3 separate regions of the Homo sapiens genome follow, and all the other regions are linked to region 1. The links are contacts of gene promoters, found by promoter capture Hi-C in blood cells and fetal thymus (Javierre and others, 2016). All regions are on one chromosome and are shown on one strand. The core of a region is centred on a gene start or on the middle of the fragment in contact, and the rest is flanking DNA. Distances in the headings are between cores, read along the strand shown. Region 1 holds the start of HOXD4 (homeobox D4). Region 2 overlaps LOC105373760 (a long non-coding RNA gene). Region 3 has its middle 29 kb from the start of LINC01117.

Region 1 (5,052 bases), core at 1,660-4,159:
CCAGTCTCCCTCCTTCTTGGTTGGAAAAGCTGGGGCTGGCCTCAGAGACAGGTTTTTTGGCCCCGCTGGGCTGGGCAGTCTAGTCGACCCTTTGTAGACTGTGCACACCCCTAGAAGAGCAACTACCCCTATACACCAGGCTGGCTCAAGTGAAAGGGGCTCTGGGCTCCAGTCTGGAAAATCTGGTGTCCTGGGGACCTCTGGTCTTGCTTCTCTCCTCCCCTGCACTGGCTCTGGGTGCTTATCTCTGCAGAAGCTTCTCGCTAGCAAACCCACATTCAGCGCCCTGTAGCTGAACACAGCACAAAAAGCCCTAGAGATCAAAAGCATTAGTATGGGCAGTTGAGCGGGAGGTGAATATTTAACGCTTTTGTTCATCAATAACTCGTTGGCTTTGACCTGTCTGAACAAGTCGAGCAATAAGGTGAAATGCAGGTCACAGCGTCTAACAAATATGAAAATGTGTATATTCACCCCGGTCTCCAGCCGGCTCAGCAGGCTCCCCCAATTTGTCTGGATAGAGCCTAGGCCCAGTGTCCCAGGAAGGTGGATACTTGGGAGTCTTTGGCATTCAGGGAAATTGGGGGGACTCTCCTGGGATAAACAGATTCTGCAGCCTCATAGCCCTTGTTAGAACTGGCGCCCCCAAAATCCCTACGAAACAGGTAAAGTGGTGGAAGCAAAGGATGGGGGGATGAGCAAAGTGCCAGGCTTGGAGGGGGAGTATCCCTGCCCCACCCCACCAGGCCCAGGCCCAGGCTTGAAACTAAATTTTGAATTATGTGGGAGGTAGGAAGGGCAATCAAGACAGTTAAAAAAAAATCTAACACCTTCAGCCTACAGTTAGGCACCCAAAAGCCCCACTCGAGCCAGGGCATCCCTGTGCCCCTGAAATCCATCGAGGCTCTGAGTGAGTCTGCGCTCTCCATGCCCTGAACTGAGGGACAAGCACTGCACAGTGCCGAGGCGCTGGGGCGGGTGAAATTTGTGAACTTTTGTACTCTTGTGTGCTGCTGTCGGCAAAGCAAAAATAATGAAAGTTTGTGATATGTTTGTAAATGATTTCGAATGACCCCTCGCCCTGCCCTTCACCATTAGCGCGCCGGCCTCAGCCCAAGGCGGCTCGGTGCCTGTGAGCAGCGCCTGCCTCGGGGTCTGCAGCAGCAGCGGAACGGAGAGGCCAGCCCGGATCAGGGCCCATGAAGGTAAATGCGCGACTTCTTGGAGAAGTAGCTTTGGCAGACAACCTGGCTTGGTCGGGCAGTAGGAAAAGGAGTAGACACAGGATATTCCCCTCTCGCTTCTTTTTCTTCTGCCGCTGAGGGCATTTGTTCCTTTCTGGAAAATACCACTTGGTAAGGAGGAGGGTTATTTGGATCCTGGTGGGGGAGGGTGGTTAATAAAGCCGCCATCCTTGGGATGGATTATTTTTCTTTCTTTCTTTCTTTTTTTCTTTCTTAAGAAGAATATTCTGGTTGTTCGCCTGCTTGGTAACCCTGACCCTGGCAGAAGAATGAGGGAACTCATTGCTTCAAATTGTCGCCAAGCCCATTAGGCTACCTGAACTGTCTCAGAAAGTGCGGGTGGCTGCGTCGAACGGTGGTGGCTCAGAGGAAGAGATTGGGGCCGGCAGCGACCTAGGTACCTCACTCTGGGTGGGACCCAGAGGTTGTAACGTTGTCTATATATACCCTGTAGAACCGAATTTGTGTGGTATCCGTATAGTCACAGATTCGATTCTAGGGGAATATATGGTCGATGCAAAAACTTCACGTTTCTTCGGAATAGCCAGAGACCAAAGTGCGACATGGAGACTAGAAGCAGCCGGCGCTGGTCAGCCGCCTCGTTCTGTTTTATTACCTTGGACTCCAGGAGGATCAGCTGCGCCTGGTGACATAGAGCAGCTTTTCCTCTCCAGAAGCTCCTCACCTTTAAACAGAGTATCCTCTGGGTGCTGAAAAGAAAGAAAGACAGAAAGAGAGAAAGAGAGAGAGAGAGAGAAAGAGAGAATGCAAGCCTAATTGGTTGCATGGATGCAGGGCCAAAGGGCTAGGTTTTGGGGTACTAGGGAGTGAGGTACAAGGCCAGCTTGCCCAGTCCCAGCTCTGCCCTCCAGGAACATGAGGTGCAAAGGTACCCAAATGGGGGCTTGCTTGTATTTGGGGCCTGTGGGAAGAAAGCAAGCTTCAAAGAAGCCCAGTGGGGAGCTCTAGGGTGCATTTTGACAAGGTGGAGGTGCCCTTGCCACCATCCCAGCCCACCCCCAGCTACATGGGCAAGGGCAGCGAGGGCCCCCTGCTATTTTGGCAGGGCCCAGCTTTGGCTGGGAACCCCCGGGCCTGGGCACTGGTAGAAAGCATGGCGGTTACTCATTGCCTAATTTGATTCAAGCTGGCCAGATTCTGGTAACTTTTGGGTGACCCTGATGAAGACAAAGCCAGGACGGCGGCCTTTGTATGGCAGAATCCCTGCTCCCGCCGGCTGCAGGCAGGGCGGGCAGGCAGGAACCCTCCTCGCCTGGGGCACTCTGCCCAACTCAGAGGCGAGTTCACCCACCCACCTTTCATTGCTCTGTACCCCAATAGGAGGATTCATTCTCCCTTGAGCTGTGCCTACTTGGTGTCGGGGGGCGGGGGTTGCATTCAGCTGGGGGTGAGTGGAAGGGCCACGGAAGGTTGGCAAAATCAGTGGCAGACAAAAGCTGGGATTACCTGAGGGGAATGGGGTGCTGGGGACTGGAACTACATTAATATCTGGCAGGGGCTCTCAAATGTGCCATAGCAAGCTACTTGATTACACGTATGTTATTTAGTTAAATTTGTGAAAATTATGAGATGCTCACCAACCCGGTGATAAACTTGCTCCCTCGCCATTGGCTGGCCTGGTCACATGGCTGCCCAACTTTATTCAGTTGACAGCAAGTAGGAGGGCCCTATGGAAGGAGAAAAAAAGACAACACGAGAAAAATTAGTATTTTCTACCTTCTGAAATTAATGGTCATGAGTTCGTATATGGTGAACTCCAAGTATGTGGACCCCAAGTTCCCTCCGTGCGAGGAGTATTTGCAGGGCGGCTACCTAGGCGAGCAGGGCGCCGACTACTACGGCGGCGGCGCGCAGGGCGCAGACTTCCAGCCCCCGGGGCTCTACCCACGGCCCGACTTCGGTGAGCAGCCTTTCGGAGGCAGCGGCCCCGGGCCTGGCTCGGCGCTGCCTGCGCGGGGTCACGGACAAGAGCCAGGCGGCCCCGGCGGTCACTACGCCGCTCCAGGAGAGCCTTGCCCAGCTCCCCCGGCGCCTCCGCCGGCGCCCCTGCCTGGCGCCCGGGCCTACAGTCAGTCCGACCCCAAGCAGCCGCCCTCCGGGACGGCACTCAAGCAGCCGGCCGTGGTCTACCCCTGGATGAAGAAGGTGCACGTGAATTCGGGTAAGGCTAGGGTCCAGTAACCTTTCTGTCCACATCCCAGCCCGTTAGCCTGGGTCCTCTGGAAGGGGGTGCGAGTAGGTGGGGGCGTGTGGAGCTTCCATGGGCGCCGCAATTACTCTCCCCATAAATTTTTATAGCTGAGGGAGCAGGTCAGGACCATGTGGCTGGCTGCTCGGCTGTGGGCGCAAAAGGGGGTGGGGATGGGGGGGTGGGGGAGGACTCCATTTTCAGAGCAGGGGGAAGGCTGTGGAGGAGCGGGGGATTTCCAAAATGCTTGAGGGTTCCGGACCTGGTGGTGGGCCCAGAAGAAGGAGCACATTTGGGGATCCCGCAAGCCTGGGGTATGTGGGTGTGTTTGAGGAGGTGGGTGGGAGTGAGCGTGTGCGCCGGGGAGAGGGCGGGAGGGAGGAAGCAAGCGAGCTTGGGAGCGCGCGGGGAGGGCCGCGGGCCTCGGGGCGCGCCAGGAAGTGAGCGGCGGAGGCGAGGGGCCTAACTAGTGGCCGGGCGCTGACCTGCCTGTCCTGTCTGTTTTGTCTCGCAGTGAACCCCAACTACACCGGTGGGGAACCCAAGCGGTCCCGAACGGCCTACACCCGGCAGCAAGTCCTAGAACTGGAAAAAGAATTTCATTTTAACAGGTATCTGACAAGGCGCCGTCGGATTGAAATCGCTCACACCCTGTGTCTGTCGGAGCGCCAGATCAAGATCTGGTTCCAGAACCGGAGGATGAAGTGGAAAAAAGATCATAAGCTGCCCAACACTAAAGGCAGGTCATCGTCCTCATCTTCCTCCTCATCTTGCTCCTCCTCAGTCGCCCCCAGCCAGCATTTACAGCCGATGGCCAAAGACCACCACACGGACCTGACGACCTTATAGAAGTGGGGACCCTGGGCCCATCTCTCCCTGCGCACCAGGCTGAGCCGAAGCTGCGGGGGCAGGCCGGGCCTGCTGTCACCTCGCTGGGCTCTAAGGTACTGTGGGGTGGACCTGGGACAAGCAGGCCGCCCTCGGACTAGGTTAGCATCCTGCCCGAGGGCAGCCCCCTCCCTAGAGCGGGATGGGGATGGGAGGGGGGGCGGGATTCTCTCTCTAAGTATATTATATGGCAGGAGCTACTGAGAACATAAAATCTTGGCGAGTCATTAAACTTATGAAAATCACCGCTCTTGGATTTTGAATTTGCAAATGAAGGTTGGATGCTTTATCCCACTGTGAATTTGGACATTCTCCCCCACTCCACCCCTCCAGGGTGCTTTGTGGCTTAATAATGTGGGGGAGTTGAGGCAGAAGGTTGGCCACCCCTGTGCTAGGTGCTTTCAGTGGAAGCCAGAGAGCTGGGTCAGGATTTCTGGACTTTCTGGGTTGTCTATGGAATTTCATGTGATTAAAAAATATATATTTTGCTCCCAGTGGCCCCACCTCCAAAGAAATGGGTCTAAGAAGGAAGTAAAAATGGGTTATTTTATGTTTAGATATTTGCTTAAATATTTATTTGTTGGGAAATGTGGTACAGAAATAACTGACACCTTCATGCCAAAAATCTTAAAAAGGTGAAAGGGGCTGAACTTCAGGGAGCAGAATCAGAGATATGTGCACTTACTTCTGAACTCCACCCCTCCCCACTCT
Region 2 (5,052 bases), core at 714-3,213, 990 kb after region 1:
TCGTGGTATATTTCATAGCTTGGTGATTTCAGGTAAGTGACAAATTGCTTTATATCCTTTCTGTACCTGGGTAAACTGAGGTACAAAGTGAAATCAGAGACAGAACTAAAAGCAAAACATGAAGTTCCAAGATTTCAGTTCCCGTTACTAAAATTCATGTATTCATTTATTCAATAAATATTTATTATGCAGCTAAAATGTAAGAAACATAAGGATAAATCATGTATAGATCCTACTCTCAGAGACTGCAATTACTAAGATAATAAGGAATCTACCTAAATTTAAAAAGAGATAATGCTATAAGAGAGGTATGAGTGAAGGAGAGGTTTCTTTTTACTCATGGAGTTAGAGAAGTATTATTGAACAACAAAAAGAACACAGTTGTGATTCAATACTGAAAAGTTGAATTTCTATGGTTATATGATGTGCATTATCTTAGAAAAATGAACTCTATGTAGTACTGAGTGAAAAAGGTGGGTTGATGCAAAACAGTATGTATGTTTATTATACACATTTTACACACACACATCCACATACACCAACGTGCATGTGTAAACCAAACTGCTAACAATGCTAGTCTCTAGTTAGGGGAATTACAGGTGGTTTTTATCATTTTGCTATCTATCATGTCCAATTTTATTACAATGAAGCTTAATGGTGTATTACAAATCAATAAAAGGGGAATACTTGTCCATGGTGACCAAATAAAGCTTGCATCATGCCATGATCAGTGCTGCACTATGCAGAAGCTAATGCTGACATGTGATAGACGATGACCAGGATGCATGACTTGCCCACTTCTTTTCTGATAGCCCCAGCTCTGATTTGTTTCCATTTGACAACACTGAATGAGTGGTACAAAATTATTGTCCCTACCTTTGTGTAATATTCAGAGAACTGAGTAGATGCCTAGAGATTCAAAAAAGGACCAAAATAACCAGAACTCTTGAGAGCGTACCTAATTACACAATCATTAATAATCAATATAGCTTCACAAAGAACTTGTCCTATGTAGATAATAGACAGTCATCCTATTACATAGCAGAGTGGAAGGCCTGATGGATCACAGAAAATTAACTGATGAACCCTAAGCTGGACTTTAGGAAGGCTTTTGATTCTCTCCTACAAGGCATGCTAGGAAAATAGACCAGGAACAGACAACTGTTGATTCATTAACTATAGATTGGCTGGGGAGTTCTAACTAAAGCATTCAAATTGAGGAGACGACAAATGGTGTTTTTGATATCAACCCGAATAACAGACAGAAGAGGCCAAAAAATGAAATTTAGAAGGTAAAATAACAATTTAAGATAAAATTGTACAAATAAGAAACAAAATGTAGATTAAACGTAGTATGGAAAAATGTGTTCAAAGTACACACCTGAATTACAGGAGCTAATTAGAAATTGTTTGCATAGAAATATGACTGTCAGTAGGCATTGCTGTAGCAGTTTAAAATACTGTTTTGACAATGAATACCGAATTAGGACTGACAGACAAATGCATGTTGTCTACACCCATGTTAGCACTTAACATGTTGTATTGCCATTACTTGTTGGCAAATCTTTCTCTCCCTCAAGGTTTTTGTTAAATCTTACTGTATTCCCAGCACCTAGCAGAGTCTGGCAGAGAGAGGATTTTTCAATACATCCTCAGGAATAAATGAGATCATCTCCCATCTTCCTCAGATACCTTAATAAAGCACTAAACTCCCCTCAGAGTGCTATATTTAAAGATGGATATGAATAATTTGCTGAGCATTCAGAGGAGAACTTAAAAAGGTGGGGAGTTGATAAATGAGAATTGGATTTTTCCGTTTATAGAAGAGAAAGCTGGGGGGTAAATTAGTTACAATTTTCTTTTTGAAGAAATCTTACGCAAAAGACATCTTTTTCTATTAAAAATGTCCAAAAGTGTCTGGGTTAGAAGCCCAGATTAGGGAAATGGACCATTAAATATTGGAATGGATAACAACAGAAAAAAAAAAAAAACCTCAACTAAAATATATTTTACTAAATGCTTTCACAAAAGAGCTAGCTCCTGAGCTCCAATGAAGACTCACGTATAAGCCGCTGTGAATTAAGAAGCTGGCCTTTCAACCAAGCCCCTTACGTAAGAGCCAAGACTCCACAATTTCATGATAAATGAGTAACCAGCCATCATCAGAGAGTTTGCACAATTAAACTGACAATTCAAAACTCAATTTTATTTTCATGATATTTATGTTCAAGTTATCATAGAAGTCTGTATCAACAGAATATAAAATATACTATTGATGTATAGAAATTAGATTTCTGGAAAATCCCATACTTATTTCTTCATGTATATTTGCATAGATTTCTATTTTTTTATTAGCTGGTTATTTCTTAATTGAGAGTGTTCTAAATAAAACCTGATATTAAATACAATATAATTATTTCAGTTCCAAAATACATCCAGTATACCCAGTAAATATGGCTTTAGTAAGAAATTGTGAGAAAAGAATCCCACTCTAATTGATTCTCACCTATGTATCAAATATTATTTTGTTCTATTCTTCAATCATTATTTTTTCTTTTTTTTTTAGCTGGGCAGCTCCCTAAACCAGAATAGGTTCAGAGCAACTCCTGGTCATCATTTTTTATTTGCAATATAAAAACTGTTATATATTATATTAATTATAATTTATAATTATAAATTATAATATAATATATTAACTGTTCTAATAACCCATTTGTCACTATAAATAGCCTTTGAGTTTTTCTTCCATTCCAAAAAGGAGTAAAAGGTCCCCCAAACCAATTGATTTAACACCAAATTTAAATAAACCCAAAGACCCTCTCACTTTTCACATTGAGTAGAACAAGGTCAGACTGGGCATCTTCCAAATGTAAAGGCTTAATTGGACTAATTCTTTCATGATAATAATGTATATTTAAGATAGCCACTAAAAATTGTCAATGCTAATTTAGTAGATCAATTCCATTAAATGCTTTGAACTTTTCACCACTTGCTAATCTCATCTATTACAGCTGCTGTTTTTGTTGAAAATCTAAGCTATAACTTAATATCAAATTACAACATTTCTAGGCAGACCTAAAAAATACTTTCTTATATGTGAAATATAACCTAAAAAGACTGTAAGTTGTGTAAATTGTAAGATTCTAGCCATAAAATTTCCTGCAGTCAAAATGCAGAAAGATCTTATCAATCTATTGGCAATTGACATTATGGTAAGAAGCTTATGGGTTTTTTTTTAACATCTTAGAAATAAATGTTTTATTGTATCTAAAATAAAGCTTTAACATTTGTGATTATTGATTGTAGACCCACCTTTATACACTAAATGGTTCAGACTGTAACATCAAACATAATGTAATTTAGGTAATACTTCAACTCACGTCAGTAGAAATGCCAAGGTTGTGCTCAACATTTAGGTGAACAATGTAAGGAATATGCTCATTAATGTAAAAAATAATATATTTGTTATTTAGCTAATGAAGAATTTTGAGACCCCAAACCACTATCGAATATCCAGCATGCCTTATTTGTCTGGAACTAGACTTCTGAGGCTATTTTTATTCCCTGTGATTTACCACCAGTATCCTCTGGGTGATAGTTGAGGAAACAGATGCTGGGAATCTCTCTGCTCAGTTCCTGAGAGGAGAGTTCTGACTCACAGCCTTGCCAGCTCCCTGCTTTGTACTCACATAAGCAAAGGGTGGTGAAGTAAAACGTAAATGACTGCCTGATTTCCAGTCTCTCATTGCCAGTTTCCTCAAAGTTTCCACTTACGCATTTGCCTCCCTTACCAATTTCGTTTGAAGTTCCTTTTCCAAAATCCTGAACGGCATGTTCCCAGGATACATTTACTTTTTCAAAAAAATTCATTCAGTGGGGATTTTCCAACTGAAATTAAAAAAAAAAAAAAGGAAGACTGGAGAGGGGGCATTCTTTTTTTTCGGCTTTTTCATTTACTGTCAATTGATTGTATTGATATCTGCAGAAGGAAGATGTAGATTTTTTTAAAAAAATTGTAAAATGTTCCCCTCTAAGCTCTAAGCACATTTTTCTTATGGAAAATCATAAACCTTCCTAAAAGTTTCCTGTATTCTGTTATTTATTGTGAAAGGATTTAAACTAACATAGATATGCTTCCATTTGGAGATTATACTTAAATTGTTAGTTTAAAAAAATTAATCTTTATTAAATGTCCACAAGGTATAGAGCATTCTTCTTTCTTTGTGCGTCTAGGCTGACAAAAATACACAGGGGGAAGAAATCTATGAAGTTTAAATACCTTTTATAATGAATTTAAAACAGAAGCATACGCCACATTATAGACTGAGAATTCAATTTCACAAGGCAGCAGTTTCTCTTAAAACTATTATTTTAGGTCGGGCGCGGTGTCACGCCCTGTAATCCCAGCACTTTGGGAGGTCAAGGAGGGTGGATCATGACATCAGGAGTTCGAGACCAGCCTGACCGTCATGGTGAAACCCGTCTCTACTAAAAATACGAAAATTAGCCAGATGTGGTGGCACGCACCTGTAATCCCAGCTACTCAGGAGGCTGAGGCAGGAGAATCACTTGAACCTGGGAGGAGGAGATTGTGGTGAGCCAAGATCCTGCCCCTGCACTCCAGTCTAGGTGACAGAGCAAGACTCTTTTTAAAAAAAAAAAAGCTATTATTTTACAGAGAAATTAAATTCACTGGCCAGAGTATGTTTTTACAAAGTTTTTCTTTAAAAACCTACCTTTACTTTATTGAAAACAATGGGACCTATATGGATAATTTTCTTTTTTTTTTTTTTTAGCTGGAGTTTCGCTCTTGTTGCCCAGGCTGGGAGAGCAATGGCGTGATCTCAGCTCACTGCAACCTCTGCCTCCTGGGTTCAAGCGATTCTCCTACCTCAGCCTCCCGAGTAGCTGTGATTACAGGCATGCACCACCACGCCTGGCTAATTTTGTATATTTAGTAGAGACAGGGTTTCTCCATATTGGTCAAGCTGGTCTCCAACTCCCGACCTCAGGTGATCCCCCGCCTCAGCCTCCCAAAGTTCTGGGATTACA
Region 3 (5,052 bases), core at 1,007-3,506, 510 kb after region 1:
CAAATATCCTCTGTCATCAACAGTTGATTCTAATCTTTTGTTCTAGGAGCTGCATGACCTCCTCCCACCACTCCTGATGTTACTTGTGTGAAGAAATGATTTGATATGCTCTCTCCTTAGCAGGGGGTTGGGAGGGGTGGACACTGAGGACCAGGACAGCAAAATATTATCCTCTAGTCGTATCTCAAATCTGTATCTGTCTGTGACACAGCCAATCCACTCGATCTAGTTATTTTCACAATTTTACATTAGCTCCAGTTATAGAAGCTTGAAAACATTAAAGATATTCTTTACACTGTATATAGAAAACAGATATATATATATAATTCATATATTATATGCAATATATGCATATTTAATATGATATATATATCGATCTGTCTGTCTATATATCTCTCTCACAGACAAAGGTAGAAGCAGAGATGTAAATTCAAGAAGCTCAGAGACATTATTCTGTGTCCTTTTTACTACTTTCCACAAGTAATGGTCTATATCTCCATGAGTTTTCCTTGTTTTTGGAGCCTGAATTGTGCTTTTAGAGACCCTCACTCTGAGGAGACTAACTTTAAGTTTTATTTATATTCATTAACAAGAACATAAAAGCACCCTACCGAGGACCTCTGAAAACTAAAGTTGAATGCAGTGCTCCACACCCTGCCCCTGCGTGCTTGGTTGCAGTAGTCACTTGTGGTCTAGTTTACTTAATAGCTAGAGAGGTTAGCACCCCGTTTGACAAGGATGGAAGAGTCCCTCAGGCCTGACAAATAAAATAAAAAAAATAGCTGTAAAACCAGTAAAGATTGTACTAAATGCTGTCTTGTGAAAAAAATAAAAATAAAAAAAGGATATAAAGAAAAGCCGGAGTATTCTAGCCAGCTGTCTAATTCTGGAAAATCATATAACCTCTCTGGGTCTTGTTTTCTGTGTCTATAAAAGGAGCTTGGAATTTTCTGTGATTCTAAGCAGCTGGGCATTAAGCTTATTGACGACCACACCTGTGGCACAAATGTGTTTTGGAATAGTAGTAGGTGCTGAATTTGTCAGAAATTGTTTGAATGAGGAATGGATGGATAGGGCGAGTTCTGCCCTTCAAGCCAGAAAAAGTGTGTTGACTTTTTTCACTTGAAGGCACCTGATTAGTGTATCAGAGACTAAGCCTGCCCTTCTAGCTTTGCCATGGAATCAGTCTCACTCTGGGACATGGTTCAGATCATACCATGGAAATAGTAAGGGAGCAGGACTACATTTTTGCCAAGGGGAACCCAGAGCAGTGTTATGCTTCCTTCACTGGGAGGTGGAAAATTCCATTGCAATGAGCAAGACCATCTCTCAATGCACAGGATCCACTTTGAGTCTATTTCCAGGTACCCGCCTTTGTTTGATCAAATTTGTTAAAGAGCCTCTTCCTTATGATTTGGCTTGCCAGCTAGATCCATCTACAGGGAGAGAAGAAGCTGGAGTATTTTTGTTCCTGTGACAGTTATACCTCACTGTAAATTTTTTAAAAGGAGAGTAGATTGGGCCAGGTGCAGTGGCTCACACCTGTAATCCTAGCACTTTGGGAGGCTGAGGTAGGTGGATCACGAGGTCAGGAGATTGAGACCATCTTGGCTAACATGGTGAAAACTCCGTCTCTACTAAAAATACAAAAAATTAGCCGGGCATGGTGGCAGGCACCTGTAGTCCCAGCTACTTGGGAGGCTGAGGCAGGAGAATGGCATGAACCCGGGAGGCGGAGCTTGCAGTGAGCCGAGATCACGCCACTGCACTCCAGCCTGGGTGACAGAGCGAGACTCCGTCTCAAAAAAAAAAAAAAAAAAAAAAAGAGTAGATTGTATTAGCATGGAGAGGGAATTTAAAGGGATAGAATGTACTAGAGAAACAGTGAAGGGTAGAGGAGGGGCAGAAAATTGGGCCAAAAGGGCATCACTTCGTAACCCTTAGAGAAATTTCATGGGGCATGGGAATACAAGTTGGAGGTTATTAATATGTCTGTGTTGCTGGTTTGTCCATACACACTTGGTGCAAATATCAACAGTGGATTTGCTTTATAATTAAGGTGGCATTTTGCAATTCACCTGTAATAAAGAATGTGAGTAGTTTATTAAAGATTGGTTTGTATAGTGAATAGTATTTATTGCAAATAAATAAGAAGCACAGTGGCCTCACGCAGAATGAGTAATAATCTGTTTAAAAATGGAGCTAGCATGAAATTGCTGAAGACATACCTTGATCGAGCATTATAAAATCTCTTCTTTATGGAAATATCTCTGTATTTATAGATTGACCTACTTCTGTATACTTCTAGTTGGACTTGTACTAATGATGGAAGAACTTGAACGTTTCAAAAGTTGAACAGTTTTACAGCGACTTCTGACAAGATACAAAGCATTTGGTAGTTAAGGGGGATATATACTTCTTAAAGGTCATTTTTAAACGTATTGAAACTATTAAATAAGTGTGTAGATTATATCCGTCTCTTAAACCCCAAACTAAAAATCTTCAGGAAGCATAAACACAAATTCCCTCAATCGAAAAAAGGCTGCTTAGCAGACTAAGAAGAATATAATTAAAGAAGCCCATTTTAGGCATATATGCAATTATTTTAAGATATGTTTATAATTTGCATTTAGTAGCAAGATCGGGTTATTAAGCGTACAACATACCAACCTTAGTAATCACGTTAACGAAATAAAATGTCTAGAAACTTTAGAAAGTTGATTAGTAATCTACATTTTGTACTAATTATGGAGGGGCACATTATAGCTTATAAATACACAAGATAAAAATCCCAAGTTTCTGAGTGCAAAAAAATAAACTTTCATATATTTTGACAAGCATTGCCTGGTCTGAACTATTTATAATACTTTAGAGTGTACTAGCACTTTTTTGGTAATATAAAAAGTAATAGAATCTTAGTAATATGAAGTCCCACTAGAGATATTTGCTATTAAATTGTTGCTGAGTGTGCTGAGGTTTGGGGGAGAATTATCGAGTTTGCAGATTAGCAAAGCAAGTTCTGGCAATGTTTTAAAATTGAATCAGTGATGCTTTAAAATGGGATATATTTTAAGGATTCACAATAAGAATTTAAAAATAGATGAAAAGATGGGTTTGTTATCGTCAAGCAGTGTATGTTAATTAGTGTCTATATGCAAACTAATTTTATGTTTGTCTCCAGGTTTAAGTGTATACAACAAGCAAAGGGTTAAGGGTGAGGCAGAGTTCAGGAAAGAATAATTAAAAATGAGAAGTGACATTAATTTTAAATAAGTGCTTTCCCATTTTCTGCTTTCTTTTTAATTTTTAAAAAATCTTTCCCTTTCAAGCATTAGCAGAGCTGCAAGCACAGGATGGCCCAATTTTGTGAAATTAGGCCTTTGCCCATGTTTCTAATTCAGAATTGGATGTACTTTAAATGTCCCCCTGAGTGTAGCAGCTGAGAGTCCTCTTCTCTCCTGGGTACTGTAATCTTTGGTGGGGTCACTAAAAGGAGGGATATGTCACAGGTAACCTTCTACCACTTGCTATGGGGAAGCTTTCTTTTGTGTTCTTTCAGATTTGAGTAAAGTTGCCAAACATGATAAAACTGCTTGATGATGGCAGAATTGTTAAGTCTACTCTTAACCCTGTCCACCAGTTTACCAATGAAAAGGTCAGTGGCATGCAAAGAGAGGAATTCTTTATAGCTGCCAAACAACTGGTTTAATTCACCTGTGTTCCACCCTAGAAGTACTCGGAGATAGCTACTGGAAGGTCAAGAAATAAATCCTTGTAGTTGGGAAGTCATAATTTTCAACAATCATCTTCAATTTATTTTGAAGCAATTATTTAAACCTGAATTAGTTGTTAAGTCACATATAAGATAGGTAGTTAGCTTGTATGGTATAATTATTCAAAGGTAATTTGTAATTAATTATGAAATACCTTTACTAGAAAAATAAGTCCTATATAAATTGAACTAATTTTTATGGTACTAGTAATATTACTATACCTATTAGAGGTGGAGCCTATATTAACTATTAACATTAATTAATGTTACACTAATAACATTAACATTAATAACAATTAATAACATTAATTGTTGTTACAGGATAATTTTAGATTTGCAAGGATCCTGAGAAGTTATCCAATTTAGCTTTTTACCTTCAGAGAGAATTAAGCTAAAGCTCCACCTGTTCCTTGAAAATGATTCCTTCTGCCCTAAACCTTGGAGAAGCTTTTCTTCCTTTGAATTCTGTGCTGTATCTGTGCTGGACATTTGGAATTTAGCATTGATTACTCTGTATTGCAATTTTATGTATGTGTCCTATCTCCTGAACCAAAGTGTCAGACCCTTTCAAATTAAAGACTGGAATTGAACATTTTGGCCCACTTCCCGCATATGCTAAGGCAGTGGTCTATGATGGAAGATGTTCAGTATGCACTGAGGAGATTGATCTAAATTTATCTTGAAAATCATGTTAGTCCTTAACAATCTTCTCTTGGTATTTGATCAACAACTTGAATTAGAAAGTATCAGAGATGTTTGGGACATTAGATATACTCTAATCTAATCCCTGTTTTACAGATCACAAAACTGAGTAAGGGCCAGAGAGCAAAATCAATTGCCTAAGACACATTGCTGGTTAGTCGACAAGAACCCTCTTTTTAGGATGCCATCTGATATTAATACCAATGTGTATGCCCTACATTAGGGTCTAACTTCACAGGTAGACTCTTCTCTCCTTAGGTTTGTTCATTTGAATGAATGAATGGTTCCTTATAAATGTCTGAGGTGCCAGACCAGTGTTCTTTCTTTGTATATTCATAGATTAGCAGCAGCTTATAATGCTGCAGATATATTCTGCTACTAGCCAGTGGCCCTGGAACCTAATTTACAATATCCGGGTATTCTGTATTCCCTTGAACATGTGATTTTTTTTCCCTTTGAATTCTATGTTTTTTGGATTGCTCATGGTGGAAGGTTTGGGACATAAATCATCATCATTTGCTACTGATCCAATTTGGGAAAACTAGGTCAGTGAATTGTACATCTGTATTAGTTGCTGT

Evidence for each region. The method cuts DNA at HindIII sites, captures the fragments that hold promoters and counts their contacts. A CHiCAGO score of 5 or more calls a contact.
Region 2: a fragment that was not itself captured here is called in contact with the fragment with the promoter of HOXD4 in region 1 in 6 of 17 cell types (naive CD8 T cells, naive CD4 T cells, non-activated CD4 T cells and 3 more); the score reaches 8.7 in naive CD8 T cells.
Region 3: a contact is called between a fragment that was not itself captured here and the fragment with the promoter of HOXD4 in region 1, in 1 of 17 cell types (fetal thymus). The highest score is 5.0, in fetal thymus.

The regions. Positions count from the first base shown.
Region 1 is chr2:176,148,641-176,153,692 of GRCh38, forward strand. HOXD4 (homeobox D4) reads left to right here and starts at 2,910. Exons shown (of 2, transcript NM_014621.3): 1 at 2,910-3,426; 2 at 3,968-4,586. The coding sequence starts at 2,994. The coding sequence ends at 4,302. It overlaps MIR10B (microRNA 10b), which reads left to right and starts at 1,663; the gene lies at 1,663-1,772. It also overlaps a transcript of HOXD3 not described here. RefSeq lists enhancers at 1-100, 2,629-3,362. The HindIII fragment of the contact is 3,668 bases long and covers 2,183-5,052 here.
Region 2 is chr2:177,139,949-177,145,000 of GRCh38, forward strand. All of the region lies in intron 1 of LOC105373760 (a long non-coding RNA gene), which reads right to left. Among named protein-coding and RNA genes, the nearest start is that of MIR4444-1, 70 kb to the right of the region's middle. The HindIII fragment of the contact is 2,510 bases long and covers 709-3,218 here.
Region 3 is chr2:176,663,981-176,669,032 of GRCh38, forward strand. It overlaps the pseudogene RNU6ATAC14P. Among named protein-coding and RNA genes, the nearest start is that of LINC01117, 29 kb to the left of the region's middle. The HindIII fragment of the contact is 2,560 bases long and covers 977-3,536 here.